Linked DNA regions of Homo sapiens: region 1 is linked to region 2. The links are contacts of gene promoters, found by promoter capture Hi-C in blood cells and fetal thymus (Javierre and others, 2016). All regions are on one chromosome and are shown on one strand. Each heading gives the region's core, a stretch centred on a gene start or on the middle of the fragment in contact. The rest is flanking DNA. Distances are from core to core; before and after follow the strand shown. Region 1 overlaps CDK5RAP1 (CDK5RAP1 mitochondrial tRNA methylthiotransferase). Region 2 holds the start of EFCAB8 (EF-hand calcium binding domain 8).

The links. The method cuts DNA at HindIII sites, captures the fragments that hold promoters and counts their contacts. A CHiCAGO score of 5 or more calls a contact.
Region 1: a fragment that was not itself captured here is called in contact with the fragment with the promoter of EFCAB8 in region 2 in 1 of 17 cell types (M1 macrophages); the score reaches 7.6 in M1 macrophages.

The regions. Positions count from the first base shown.
Region 1 is chr20:33,376,702-33,384,377 of GRCh38, reverse strand. It overlaps CDK5RAP1 (CDK5RAP1 mitochondrial tRNA methylthiotransferase), which reads left to right. Exons shown (of 14, transcript NM_016408.4): 8 at 4,687-4,917. Among named protein-coding and RNA genes, the nearest start is that of CDK5RAP1, 21 kb to the left of the region's middle. The HindIII fragment of the contact is 203 bases long and covers 4,315-4,517 here.
Region 2 is chr20:32,855,974-32,863,718 of GRCh38, reverse strand. It overlaps EFCAB8 (EF-hand calcium binding domain 8), which reads right to left and starts at 4,796. Exons shown (of 27, transcript NM_001143967.2): 1 at 4,713-4,796. It overlaps LOC119746555 (a long non-coding RNA gene), which reads right to left and starts at 7,087. Exons shown (of 1, transcript NR_171378.1): 1 at 4,968-7,087. RefSeq lists an enhancer at 4,117-4,929. The HindIII fragment of the contact is 6,288 bases long and covers 142-6,429 here.

The DNA.
Region 1 (7,676 bases), core at 3,167-5,666, 520 kb before region 2:
TGTTTAAATAGACTGAGATGGTGACAAAACTCCCCAACCTTTCTAGGCCATTTGCCTATAAAAGAAGGAACTTAATAACATTAAAGTGAATCTTAGTGAATTCAAGGCCATAGACTTGTGGAAAATTAAGATTTTACTTGTATTTTAAAGTATCTGTTAGTCACTTAATAATTTTGCTTGTTTAGTAATTTTTAAAGATTTTTTTTCTTTCATTTAGATTTTTTAGACTACAGTTGCAAAGAGTATAGAATATTGTACCTTTAACAGAATGTCCGTTTATTCATTCAAACAATGGTTATCTATTGGAAGTCTTCTAAATAAGCAACTTTTATAAAAAGTCTTTTTAATCTTTTTATATGAAAAATACTTAAATATACTGAAAAGAGGGAATAGTATAATGACCCCTCTGCCCCAGCTAACAATCACCTAAATTTAACAATTGTTGCATTTTGCCATATTTGTTTCATTTACTTTTATTTTTTATTTTTTTTTGGCTGGAGTGTAGTGGTATGATCTCGGCTCACTGCAGCCTCCACCTCCCAGATTCAAGCGATTCTCCTGCCTTATCCTCCTGAGTAGCTGGGATTACAGGTGCCTGGCACCACACCTGGCTGATTTTTTTTTTTTTTTTTTTTTGAGACAGAGTTTTGCTCTTATTACCCAGGCTGGAGTGCAATGGTGTGATCTCGGCTCACCACAACCTCCGCCTCCCGGGTTCAAACGATTCTCCTGCCTCAGCCTCCCGAGTAGCTGGGATTATAGGCATGCGCCACCACGCCTGGCTAATTTTGTATTTTTTAAGTAGAGACGGGGTTTCTCCATGTTGTTCAGGCTGGTCTCGATCTCCCGACCTCAGGTGTTCCTCCCACCTCGGCCTCCCAAAGTGTTGGGATTACAGGTAAGAGCCACTGTGCCTGGCTTAATTTTTGTATTTTTAATAGAGACGGGGTTTCACCATGTTAGGCTGGTCTCAAACTCCTGATCTCAAGTGATCCACCCGCCTCGGCCTCCCAAAGTGCTGGGATTACAGGTGTGAGCCCACTACGCCTGGCCTCATTTATTTTTTTCTTATTGAAAACGTATTTCAAAGTAGAGCATGTTGTTTCATCCTTCAGTATGCATCTCTAAAAAATAAGGATATTTTCTTTTTTAAACATTTAAAAATCTTTTTATTATTTATTTATTTATTTATTTTTGAGATGGAGTTTCGCTCTTTTTGCCCAGGCTGGAGTGCAATGGCACAATCTTGGCTCACCGCAACCTCCGCCTCCCAGGTTCAAGTGATTCTCCTGCCTCAGCCTCCCAAGTAGCTGGAATTACAGGTGTGCACCACTACACCCAGCTAATTTTGTATTTTTAGTAGAGATGGGGTTTCACCATGTTGGCCAGGCTTAGTCTCAAACTCCTGACCTCAGGTGATTCACCCGGCTCAGCCTCCCAAAGGGCTAGGATTACAGGTGTGAGCCACTGTGCCTGGCCTATTTATTTATTTACTTATTTATTTATTTATTTTGAGACAGAGTCTTGTTCTGTTGCCCAGGCTGGAGTGCAGTGTTATGATCTTGGCTCACTGCAACCTCTGCCCCCGGGACTCAAGTGATCCTCCTGCCTCAGCCTCCTGAGTAGCTGGGATTATAGGCACGTACCACCATGTGCTGCTAAAGAATATTTTTATTTTATTTTATTTATTTATTTAGAGACGGAATTTTGCTCTTTTTGCCCATGCTGGAGTGCAATGGCACGATCTCAGCTCACTGCAACCTCCACCTCCTGGGTTCATGTGATTCTCCTGCTTCAGCCTCCTGAGTAAATGGGACTACAGGCATGCGCCACCATACTTAGCTCATTTTTGTATTTTTAGTAGAGACGGGGTTTCACCATGTTGGGCAGGCTGGTCTCGAACTCCTGACCTCAGGTGATCTACCCGCCTTGGCCTCCTAAAGTGCTAGGATTACAGGCATGAGCCACCGTGTCTGGCCAAGAATATTTTTAATACCATTAGTTCTTCCAGTAAGATTAACAAAAATTGCTAAATACTGTCTCATTCCAGTTCATCCTTATTCGGAGTTCCCCAATTGTTCCTTAAGTCATTCTGCATTTGGTTTGTATGTCTTTTTATATATGTGTGTGTATTTTACTTAGTTTTATATCCTACTTTTTAATAAACTTTTTGTTTTGGAATGACTTTACATTTACAGGAAAGTTGCAAAGAGAGTTTCCTCGAGCATTGCCATCTTTCTTTGGTACATTTTTTGGTGCTGTAATCCCAGCACTTTGGGAGGCCAAGGCAGGAGGGTGCCTTGAGCGTAGGAGTTCAAGACCAGCCTGGGCAACACTGGGAGCTGCTGTCTCTATTACAAAACAAACAAAGCAAAAACTAAGAGATTAATATTGGTATGTTACTATTAACTCTCTTCAGACTTTATTTGGATTTTGCCAGTTTCTCCACTAATGTCTTACTTCGTTTCCAGGATCCAATCTAGGATCCACATTGCATTTAGTATATCCTGCTTTTTAGATTAACAGTATGTCACAACTTACACAAATAAATAGCCTTTATGGAGACTGGAGTTATGACAACTAAATGCATCGCACGGTCCTCGATTGGGATTCTGATCAGGGAAAAAAATGTTATAAAGAACATTATTTGGGCTGGGCGTGGTGGCTCACACCTGTAATCCTAGCATTTTGGGAGACCATGGTGTGCAGATTGTCTGAGCTCCGGAGTTTGAGACTAGCCTGGGCAACTTGGCAAAACCCGTCTCTACTAAAAAATACAAAAAGTTAGCCTGGCGTGGTGACACACGCCTGTAGTCCCAGCTACTCAGGAGGCTGAGGCAGGAGAATCGCTTGAACCTGGGAGGCGGAGATTGCAGTGAGCCAAGATCACGCTAGTGCACTCCAGCCTGGGCAACAGAGTGAGACTCTGTCTCAAAAAACAACAATAACAACAACAACAACAACAAAACATTATTTGGACTATTGGTAACATTTGATTTATGGAAAGTAGATAATAGTGTTGTATCAATATTTCTGATTTTGATAATTGTCCTGAAATTATATAGGAGAATGCCCTTGTTTTTAAGAAATATATACTAAAATATTTGGAAGTAAAAGAGTATGATATCTGTGACTTTTTCTCAGAAGGCTTAAAAAAAATGTAGTCATATGTGTGTTGAGAGAGAGTGTATATGAGTGTCTGAATGTGAATGATAAACAAATGGGGTGCAGTGTTAACATTTGATGAATTTGGGCAAAGAGTATATGGGAATTCTTTTAATATTGCAGTTTGTCTGTAAATTATGTCAAAGTTACAAAACAAGTCTTTTTTAGCAACCATTATTTGTGAAACTTTATAATATAACATTTCTATTTTTTGAGATGGAGTCTCGCTCTGTTGCCCAGGCTGGAGTGCAGTGGCATGGTCTCGGCTCACTGCAGCCTCTGCCTCCTGGGTTCAAGCGATTCTCCTGCCTCACCCTCCTTAGTAGCTGGGATTAGGTGCCTGCCACCACGCCCAGCTAATTTTTTGTATTTTTAGTAGAGAAGGGATTTCACCATGTTAGCCAGGCTGGTCTGAACTCCTGACCGTGTGATCCGCCCACCTTGGCCTCCCAAAGTACTGGGATTTCAGGAGGGAGCCACTGCACCTGGCCTATAATATAAATTTTCAAACAGACAAATAGAAAGACTAGTATAATAGAAAAACGTGATTGTTAACATTTTGTCATACACCTATCTCCATGCACCCATAAATGTATTTTTTCTGAACCATTTGAAGTAATTTGTAGACCTCAGGACACTTGCCCCTAGATACTTCAGTATGTATCTTCTATGAGTAACAATTTTTCTCTTCATAACCATGATATCATTATCATATGTATGAAAATCAATAGTTATTTAAGCCAGACACTTTGGGAGGCTGAGGTGGGAGGATTGCTTGAGTTTAGGAGTTTAAAACCAGTCTGTGCAACATGGTGAAATCCCATCTCTACAAAAGTAAAAAAAGGTAGTCCCAGCTACTTGGGAGGCTGAGGCAGGAGGACTGCTTAAGCCTGGGAGGTTGAGGCTACAGTGAGCTATGATCGTGCTGCTGCACTCCAGCCTGGGCAACAGAGGGAGACCCTGTCTCAAGAAGAAGAAGAAAAAAATCTAAAACAGCTCTTTTATTTTTTGTTGTTGTTGTTTTCTTTAAATGATGCATTAACTTTTTGAAGAGATCAGACATGAGTCTCCTTTGTCTGATTTTTTCCTCATGTTGTCATTTAATATATCTCTGTGAATTCTAGTAACTGGAAGTTAGGTGTAAAAGCTTGATTAGTTCAGGTTAAATATTTCTGGTGAGAATACTTTATATAGTCATGGTGTATAACATTCAAATGACAGATCTATCATAAATTAACCATTATTGTGGATTATTGAGTTTGTTTCCAGTTTTGATTCTAAATAATGTTTTGAAGATTAATTTTTATATAAGGCTTTATTAGGTTTAGCTCTTTAGGTAAGATGTCTAAGCTTGAAATTATTCGGTTATAGACACAACACACTTATAGGTGACTCTTGGTAGGTTCGATTTTTCTTTTGTTTAAAACAAAAGATATGTTAATTTCAGCTAATTTTTAATTAGTGTTTTTTTATGAAGCTACCCAAAAGTTTTAAAATTCCAATATATTTTCCCATGTTTAGGGGCTGAAAGAAGTGACACTTCTTGGTCAGAATGTTAATAGTTTTCGGGACAATTCGGAGGTCCAGTTCAACAGTGCAGTGCCTACCAATCTCAGTCGTGGCTTTACCACCAACTATAAAACCAAGCAAGGAGGACTTCGTTTTGCTCATCTTCTGGATCAGGTCTCCAGAGTAGATCCTGAAATGAGGATCCGTTTTACCTCTCCCCACCCCAAGGATTTTCCTGATGAGGTGAGCGTCAGGTTAGCTGTGACAAACTGATATTAGTATTCTTGAGCATGCCAAAGGCTGGACCCAGTAGGGATGCAGCAGAGACCTGGAGTCCTGCTTAGGGATCCTGTGGGGTATTGCTGCATCACCCTCCAGATCTGCTGGTCCTTTGAAGATTTGAAGTCCACCAGTGGCTGGGCACGGGGCTTACACCAATAATCTCAACACTTGGAGACGCTGAGGCAGGTGGATTACTTGAGCTCAGGAGTTGGAAACCAGCCTGGGCAACATGGCGAAACCCCGTCTCTACTGCAAATACAAAAAATTAGCTGGGTGGGGTGGGATACGACTGTAGTTCTGGCTACTTGGGAGACTGAGGTGGCATACGACTGTAGTTCCAGCTACTTGGGAGACTGAGGTGGGAGAATCACATGAGCCCAGGAAGTCGAGGCTGCAGTGAGCCGAGATCGCACCACTGCACTCCATCCTGGGTGAGATAGCGAGACCCTGTCTCGAAAAAAAAGTCTGCCAAGGTGGGAGTGGAGGTAGGACTGATATTCAGCGGGAGGTTAAGACCACCTGCGGGACCGTGAGGGCTGTACAGAGAGGATTTGTTACAAAGTGGGCAGCTGAGTGGTAATAATGGTGGTGGGGCGGTAATGGTGGTGTGGGGTGGACAGGAAGGAGGTGATGTGGTGCTCTGGGAAACAGCCCAGACTTTCGCCTCAGACCCGGGTTCAAATCTCAGCTTTTCCACTGTTTTACCAGCGAGCATGTGATGTTTTCAACTTTTCATCTTTATCTGTAAAATGGGGTTAATAAGGGGTTAACAATTACCTCCTGCTTTGGGTTGTTGTGAAATAGATACAAAGGCATACCTTGTTTTATTGCACTCTGCAGATATTATGGAGTTATTTTTAACAAATGGAAGGTTTGTGGCAACTCTGAATAAGTCTGTCAGCACCATTTTTCCAACAGCATGTGCTTACTTCATGTCTCTGTGTCATATTTTGGTAATTTTCACAATATTTCAAACTTCATTATTATTACATCTGTTATGGTGATCTGTGATCAGTGCTATTTAATGTTATTCTTAAAATTGTTTCGGAACACCATGAGCCACACCCACATAAGAAAGTGACCTAAATTGGTAAATGATGTGTGTGTTCTGACTGTTCCACAGACGGCCATTCCCCCATCTCTCTCCCTTTCCTCAGGCCTCCCTATTCTCTGAGACACAACAATATTGAAATTGGGCCATTTAATCACCCTACAATGGCCTCTAAAGTGCTCAAGTGAAGGGAAGGGTCGCAGGGCTCTCACTTGAAATCAAAAGCCAGAAATGTTTAAGCTTACTGAGGAAATCATGTTGAAAGCCGAGCTAGGCTGAAAGCTAGGCCTCTTATGTCAACCAGCCAAGTTGTAAATGCAAAGGAAAAGTTCATGAAGGAAATTAAAAGTACTACTCCACTGAACACATGAATGATAAGAAAACAACACAACCTCTTTGGCCGGGTGTGATGGCTCACAGGCTGGGCGCAGTGACTCACACCTTTAATCCCAGCATTTTGGGAGGCCAAGGTGGGTGGATCACCTGAGGTCAGGAGTTCTAGATCAGCCTGGCCAACATGGCAAAACTCTGTCTCTACTAAAAATAGAAAAATTAGCTGGGTTTGGTTGTGCAGACCTGTAATCCTAGCTGCTTGGGAGGCTGAGGCAGGAGAATTGCTTGAACCCGGGAGGCAGAGGTTGCAGTGAGCTGAGATTGTGCCACTGCATTCCAGCCTGGGCAATAGAGTGAGACTCCATCTCAAAAAGAAAAACAAGAAAACCCAAAAAAACCACTAACAACAAAACCCAGCCTTTTTGCTGATATGGAGAAAGCTTTAGTGATCTGGAGAGAAGATCAAAGAAGCCGCAGCACTTCCTTAAGCCAAAGCCTAATCCAGAGCAAGGCCCCTCTTCAGTTCTCTGAAGCCCAAGAGAGGTGAGGAAGCTGAAGAAGAAAAGTTTGAAGCTAGCAGAGGTTGACTTACAAGGTTTGAGGAAAGAAGCCATCTCTCTAACATCAAAGTGCAAGGGGAAGCCATAGTGCTGATGTAGAAGCTGTGCAAGTTATCCAGAAGATCTAGCTAAGATCAATGCTGAAGGTGGTTCTACTAAACAACAGATTTGCAGTGTAAATGAACAGTCTTCTGTTGGAAGAAGATGTCATCTGGGACTTTCATAGCTAGAGAAGAGAAATCAGTGCCATTCTTCAAAGCTTCAAAGGACAGGCTGACTCTGTCTCTTGTTTCCTTTTAAAAAAATTAGAGGTGGGGTCTTGCCGTATTGCCCAGGCTGGTCTTGAACACCTGACCTCAAGCAGTTCTCCCACCTAGGCCTCTCAAAGTGCTGGGATCACAGGCGGGAGCTACTGTGCCCAGCCAGACTCTCTTGTTAGGGGCCAAGGCAGCTGGTGACTTTAAGTTGAAGCCAGTGTTGATTTGCCATTCTGAAAATCCTAGGGCCCTTAAGAATGATGCTAAAGAGGATGTTACTTCCTCCACTGAAGTCGTGAGCCCCTCAAAATCATCCATGAATGTTGAAATCAGTATCTTCCAAACTCCTATTAATGTTGACATTTCGACCTCTTCCCATGAATCATTAATGTTCTTAATGGTATCTAGAATGATGAATTCTTTCCGGAATGTTTTCAGTTTACTCTGCCCAGATCCATCACAAAAGTCACTATCTACGACAGCTATAGCTTTATGAAATATATTTCTTAAATAATAAGA
Region 2 (7,745 bases), core at 3,547-6,046:
TAGCCAGGTCACAGAAAGGTGGAAAAGAAGTCAAGGTCAAGGGAGAGGGTGGCTTCCCCTTGCCCATGGACACTCCCAGCGAGCAGTGGATGAGCATTCCTTTTCCCAGAGATTTCTCCAGCAAAAAGCTTTTGCCAAGCTTGCACTTGAGCCTTTCTTCCCCTGATAGAGAGGAGTTGTCCTGCAGAAGCCATGGGGTTTCACAAGTTTCTTTACTCCTGACTTAATGCCAGAGGCTTCCTAAAGGGGATCACACTTTCTACAGAAGTAGAAGAATCTTAGGAGGCCATGTGGTAGTCCAAGTACAATAAACAGATTAGAAAAATGAGGGCTCCTCATTTCCACTGCATATACCCTCCCCACCCACCTTCCAGTGCCCTTGCAAGCCAGGACTTCGGGAGAGCAGACAGAACAGAGCTCTGCTCTGGGAATATAAAGAGAACGTTTCTATTGGGTCAGCAAGGCCTCCATATGAGATGGATGACAGCGTTTTGTTAGGGTCTTTGGAGCACCAATCCACCTCGTCAGCAAGTCCCACCAGGCAAGAGTCCAGAGGGCACTCTAGGATGGCAGGGGGACAGCCAAGAAATAGTTAAGCCCAAGACACGCACAGGGGGCAGACCAACTGAGCCAGCTTGGCTTGATCTGAAGGGTCCTGGAGGCAGAGGGGAGGGAGGAATCATGGCAGAGAAGGAAAAAAAAAAAAATTGGCAGCAAAAAGTAGAATCTTGAATACCTGGCCAGACAGTCTGAACAAAATGAAGGGCAACTATGAAAGTCATCAGTGGCCAGGTGCAGTGGCTCATACCTGTAATCCCAGCACTTTGGGAGGCCAAGGCGGAAGGATTGCCTGAGGTCAACAGTTCAAATGAGACCAGCCTGGCCAACATATTGAAACCCTGTCTCTACTAAAAATATAAAAAATTAGCCGGGTTTGGTGGCAGGTTCCTGTAATCCCAGCTACTTGGGAGGCTGAGGCAGGAGGATTGCTTGAACCTGGGAGGCAGAGGTTGCCATGAGCCGAGATCGAGCCATTGTACTCTAGCCTGGGCAACAAGAGCAAGACTCTGTCCCAAAAAAATAAAAAATAAAATTCATCAGTACAAGCTGGAGGGAGAAGACTGAACGGTACCCAAGAATGCTCTAATCTAGCAGTGTCTTGGCAACAGCTCACACCTAAGGACCAAAGGAGAGAGGACAGCCTAAGGGAAGGAGATTTGGAAGCCAAGAAGCAAGCTAACAGAAATGCCAGAACCACTTTCAGAAAAAGGAGCAAAGAGGGAAAGTGGTTTTAATGCATGTGATACTAGGCTGTCCAATTAGGAATAAAAAATAGGCCGAGGCGGGAGGATCGCTTGCATCCAGGAGTTTGAGACCAGCCTGGGCAACATTGAGACCCCACATCTACAAAAAATCCAAAATTAGCCAGGTGTGGTGGCACATGCCTATACACCCAGCTACTCAGGAGGCTGAGGTGGGAGAATTACTTGAGCCCAGGAGGTTGAGGCTGCAGAGAGCTGAGATCATACCACTACACTCCAGCCTGGATGACAGAGTGAGACCCTGTCTCAAAAAAAAAAAAAAGAAAAGAAATAATAAAAACAAGTATCTGGAAATCTGGGGACTGAAACTTGAGGAGTGGCTACATTTAGAGGACAGAAAGAGGGAGAAACACACAAGACAGCTAGGAGAATGGGACGCTACAAAGTGACCTAAGGTGATAAGGGAAAGAAACAGCCACTGAAAAAGGCAATTAAGAGGTTACCAGTGAAAAAACTAAAGTGTATGTAAAATGTTAAGTTCATTTCTGTTAAGAATATATGCATGTGCATATTGGCACATGCATAAAAAAGAGCCTGGAAACATATACTCCAAAATTAATAGCAGTCATCTCTGGTAGGTGAGATTATGGAAGATGTTTATAGCCTAAATCATGCAATTCTCTGATTTTTATTTTAATTAAAAAAGGGTTCATGGCGATCTTTTGAGATGGGGTCTTGCAATGTTGCCCAGGCTGGTTTTGCACTCCTGGGCTCAGGTGATCCTCCCATCTCAGCCTCCCAAGTAGCTGGGACAACAGGCACATGCCACCACACCAGGCTCATGGCAATCTTTAACATGTGTTTCAACGGCTAGGCGCGGTGGCTCACATCTGTACTTCTAGCACTTTGGGAGGCCGAGGCAGACGGATCACCTGATGTCAGGAGTTCAAGACCAGCCTGGCCAGCATGGAGAAATCCCATCTCCACTAAAAATACAAACGTTAGCTGGGTGTGGTGGTGGATGCCTGTAATCCCAGCTACTCAGGAGGCTGAGGCAGGAGAACTGCTTGAATCCAGGAGGCGGAGGTTGCGGTGAGCCGAGATTGTGCCATTGCACTCCAGCCTGGGCAACAAGAACGCAACTCCGTCTCAAAAAAATAAAATAAAATGTGTTTCAGTGGAGTGGGTAGGATGGTGGGTAGTAATTTAAATGACTCCTTTGTGAAAGGCCACTGTTGAAGAGTGATTGCTGCAGCATCATTCATAGGAGCAAAAACCAAAAGTGAACCATTATAGACACAGAAATGAACAAATCAGTGCATCTGCACCTAGGACGTCACCCAAACATCAGAAGGATGAATCTGACTTCCAGCAGCTAAGAGAGATTTCCATGAAGTACTAATAAGAAAAGCACGATGCAGGCCAGGCACAGTGGCTCATACCTGTAATGCCAACACTTGAGGCCAAGGTGGGAAGATCGCTTGAGCCCAGGAATTTGAGACCAGCCTGGGCAACATGGTGAAACCCCATCTGTACAAAACATACAAAAAATTATCTGGGTATGGTGACACTCCCCTGTAGTCCCAGCTACTCAAGAGGGTGAGATGGGAGGATTACCTGCATCCAGAAGTTTGAGGCCGTAGTGAACTGTAATCACAACACTGCACTCCAGGGCCTGGGTGAGAGAATGAGACCTTGTCTCAAAAAAATAAATAAATAAAAAAACCAAGATGCAGAAAAGGGTGCACACTATGATGCCAATTTTTATAAAAGAATGAAAAAATAGCCTGGGCACAATGGCTGACGTCTGTAATCCCAGCTACTCGGGAGACTGAGGCACGAGAATCGCTTGAACCCAGGAGGTGGAGGTTGCAGTGAACTAAGACTGTGCCATTGCACTCCAGCCTAGGCAAAAGAGTAAGACTCCATCTCAAAAAAAAAAAAAAAAAAAAAAAAAAAAAAAGTTACCACCATCAGCGATGGAACAAAATGACATCCATCACACACCTCCTGATCCGATACATGCAGGGCACAATGCTTCAGTAGTATTATTGCCAAAAAAATACATGATCTGAATCTAATCATAAGGAAACAGACAAACCCACATTACAGGATATTCTACAAAATAACTGGGTTTTTTTTTGCTTTTATTTTTGAGAGTCTCACTCTGTCACAGGCTGGAATGCAGTGGCTCAATCTCAGCTCACCGCAACCTCCACCTCCCAGATTCTGATGATTCTCATGCCTCAGCCTCCTCAGTAGCTGGGATTATAGGTGCACGCCACCATGCCCAGCTAACTTTCGTATTTTTAGTAGAAACAGGATTTCTCCATGTTGGCCAGGCTGGTCTCAAACTCCTTGGCCTCAAGTGCTTTCCGCCCGCCTTGGCTTCCCAAAGTGCTGGGATTACAGGCGTGAGTCACCGCGCCTGGCCAAAATAAAATGCCATGTAAACCAAAGAAAGGCTAAGGAACTGTTAGAGATGAAAGGTGACTCAAGAGACCCAACAACTAAAGGCAATGCACGATTCTGAATTGAATCCGATTGGGAAAAAACAAAAATGCTGCAAGGGCTGTTATTTGGTGAAATTATGTAAAATTTGAACATGGACTCTATATTATTAGATAGCATATTAATGTTTTCTGCTTTTGATAACTGTATTGTGGTTATGAGAATGTCCTTGTTTCAGGAAATGTACACTGAAAAGTATTTAGGGGTAAAAGGGCATGATGTCTGTAATTCTCAAATGGTTTAACAAGTAACATGTATAATAACACAAATGTGGCAAAATGTTCACAATTAGTCTATCTGGACAAAGGGAAGTTCTTTGTAGTAGTCTTACAACTATTTATATATTTTTAATTATTTCAAAACTAAATATTTTGTAAGATAAATGTCTTTCACCAGGAGAAAGTGGTTCTATGTATGTTCATGAACAGAGGTAAAACGCCAAATGGGAAAAAAAGTGCTGGTTGCTGCCAACAGAGACCACCCAAAAGAAAAGGGCAAAAGCAAGAGGGGAGAGGCCAAGACAAGTACCATTCCTCCAACTCTGAAGGGAAGGAAGGGAAGGCTGAGATGTAAAACTCGGTTGATATTTAGAATTGGAGAACAGGTCAGATCAGAAGTCACATCCATCTGCCTCAATCTATTCCCTAAAGTTGACCTGTCCGGAGCTGACGGAAGAGGGGCAGGGCAAGGCAGGTGGGAGAGTACCATCCAGAACAGGGGTGAGAATTCAGAGCAGCCACTAGGGGAACATGCTAGGGATGAGAGGGGAACGAGTGGTTTGTACGAATTTGTAGAGGCAGATGACTTAAGGATACATGCATTGAAAGCCAGCCAGGACACAGATAAGAGCTGCTCTCCAGCCTTGGAGGTCAGGCAGAGGTCTTCAGCAGAGGTATCCAATCTTTTGGAGAGCAACTTTCACCTAAAACCCTCACTCACCCTGACTCAATTTGATCTCCTCAGTTAATCTTGCTGGCAAAGTCTGGCAAAGTGCTAACACTTTCCAACTCCCATCTCAACAAAGACATTGGCAGCTGTTCCCAGTCCAAGACAGCTCCTTTATGAAGTCGAGATGGAACTCTGGGTCTGCTGGTCATATTTAGAACTAGGGAAATGAGACAGAATTCCGTATGAAGAACATAAATGAAGCATCAGAACCCGTCCCACAAACCATAATCACAGAACCATTTTTCATCCAATTTGAAACATTTCTTTTATTGAAGAAGTTGAACTTACAGCAGACAGTGAAAGGAGTTACAGCACTCCAGGACAAACACAGACATAAAATAATACATAAAACAAGTAGCGGGAAACTGGAAGATGCCAGGGAGTCCTCTTATAAAAGCAGGGTTCACCAAAACCAGAAGGCCAACTGGCTCCAGGACAGCGAAAGGCACAGTGGCTCCTCTGCTCCTCTGCCTTCTGCCCCATTTGAAATGGGGGACTTACAAATCCAGACTTCAGGGCAGGCCTAGACTTGATGCAGCCACTGCAATCTTGGTCCATGGTGCAATTTGGCAGACAAGTTGGTGAAAGGTAAGTTGTCTCCAGAGATTTCAATCAGGGACGTGGCTTCCAGATGTTAAAAGATACCCAGCTAAGTCACAAGGAAGTGGATGTTTTCAAATGCTAAGTGACCACCAAACAAAACATTCTCCCTGGGCCTTCACCACTCAGAGAACACCAACATACAAAAACAAAAGTCTGTTCCCATTTCATCAATAATGGAGTTTTAAGGATTTTGTCATAGTGTAGAATATTAAGAATGGATGAATAAAAAGTCAAAAAAGGTGCAGAGGTCCTATAAATCAGGGTTTATTAGACTAGATATTAATAAATTGGAAGGGTTTAAAAAAAAAAAGGCTGTTGGCCCTACATATGACAGTTTCCCATTGTTTCTTAGCTTAGTATATTTATTTTCCAACACAATGTTAGCAATTCTTACAGCAGTTCTTGCATTTTTCCAATAACATTTTTATTAATCAAATGGTATATATTTTTCACTATAACCTATTTTCACTGATTAATACATTTATCAGTATTTTAATGTGGCCTAAAATATGCTAAATTCTGTCACAATAAATATGTTTTTCCCTCCCTGGGGAGAAACACAAGTAAAAAAAGGAAAATATTAAGATGCATTCCACTTTTTAGTTAAGGAAAAGTTCAGAAAACTCCCATCTTTTTAAAAAAGAATGAAAATATGATCCTAAGTAACTCAGGTTAGAAAAACAGTAACAGAGCCAGGCGCAATGGCTCACGCCTATAATCCCAGCACTTTGGGAAGCTGAGGCAGGAGGATCACTTGAGCCCAGGAGTCTGAGATCAGCCCAGGCAACATAGTGAGACCATGTCTCTATTAAAAAAAAAAAAAAATTAAAGAGAGAAAAAAACAGTAATAATAAAACAAGTGGGGAGGAGGACATTTAGAAGAAAAATCTAGATAAACCTCTGCACAAAAATAATTTTGGAAAAAAGTTAGAAGTCCTACCTGAGATTAATTCAGGCGTCACTGGCTAATGCTAAGGGAATTCTGATTGGAAGGCAGCAACTCAGGGGCCCAAGGACCACATTAACAGATGCAATTACCTGCCCTAGAGAAGGCGCTTCCTCACACTCCCACTTAGCTGCAATGCCAATACTGTCCTTTCAAGCTTCAACCCTGTGATTTTAAGATATCAAAACTTGTATCCTTCTTCAGCTCTATGTAATTTGTCAAAAATTTCAAGATGCAACTCTATAGCCAAAAAGAGAGCCTTTTACTTTTTCAAACAAAAATAAACAAGAGAAGTCACTGACTGCTAAAACTAGAAGGGACCCTCAAGATTGGTATCACAGGATCACACCTTCATCTGGCAGTAGGTTGAGGTCAGTAACTCAGCTCACATGACATTTAAAACCACACAACACTACCAGAGAGAGCTACAGGTTCAGATGCCAATGGTTTCAAAAAACCATGATTCAGGCCGGGTGCAGTGGTTCACGCCTGTAAACCCAGCACTTTGGGAGGCCGAGGCAGGTGGATCACAAGGTCAGGAGTTTGAGACCAGCCTGGCCAACATGGTGAAATCCTGTTTCTACTAAAAACACAAAAATTAGCCAGGCACGGTGGTGCGTGCCTGTAATCTCAGCTACTCGGGAGGCTGAGGCAGGACAATCGCTTGAATCTGGGAGGCGGAGGTTGCAATTAGCCAAGATCGCACCACAGCACTCCAGCCCGGGCGACAACAGCAACACTCCGTCTTGAAAAAAAAAAAAACAAAAAAACCACGATTCAAGAAAAAGGCAGATTCTCCTGTGTTCAGCAGCTACTTTAAAAAAAAAAAAAAAAAAAAAGGCACTTCTTGGCCAGGAGTGGTGGAGGACTGCTTGAGCCCAGGAGTTTGAGACCAGCCTGGGGAACATAGCCAGACCCTGTCTCTACAAAAATAAAATTAGCTGAGCAGTTCCAGCTCCTTGGGAGGCTGAGGTGGGAGAATCACTTGAGCCCGGGAAGTCAAGGCTGCAGTGAGCCGTGACCATGCCACTGCACTCCAGCCTGGGTGACAGAGCGAGACCCTGCCTGGAAAAAAAACAACAACAACAACAAAAAAGCACTTCCTAATGATTGGGGAAAATATTAAATATTAGGTCAGAGAGTTAAACACTCTTAGAAATTTTTAAGAATACATTTATTTCACTCAACACTGAATCTTAAAATTATTACTTCTTCAGACCAGGCACGGTGGCTCAGGCCTGTAATCCCAGCACTTTGGGAGGCGGAGGAGGGCGGATCACTTGAGCTTAGGAGTTGCAGACCAACCTGCACAGCATAGTCAAACCCCATCCCTACCAAAAAAAAAAAAAAAAAAGAAAATTATTACTTCCTCTCTCAGGCTTCAAAATTAAGGAGGAGGGAGGGACAAATTGGGATATCCCATAGCTGCCTGCAAAAAACACAATAGCTTATTCCATTCTCCCAAGCAGGATTTA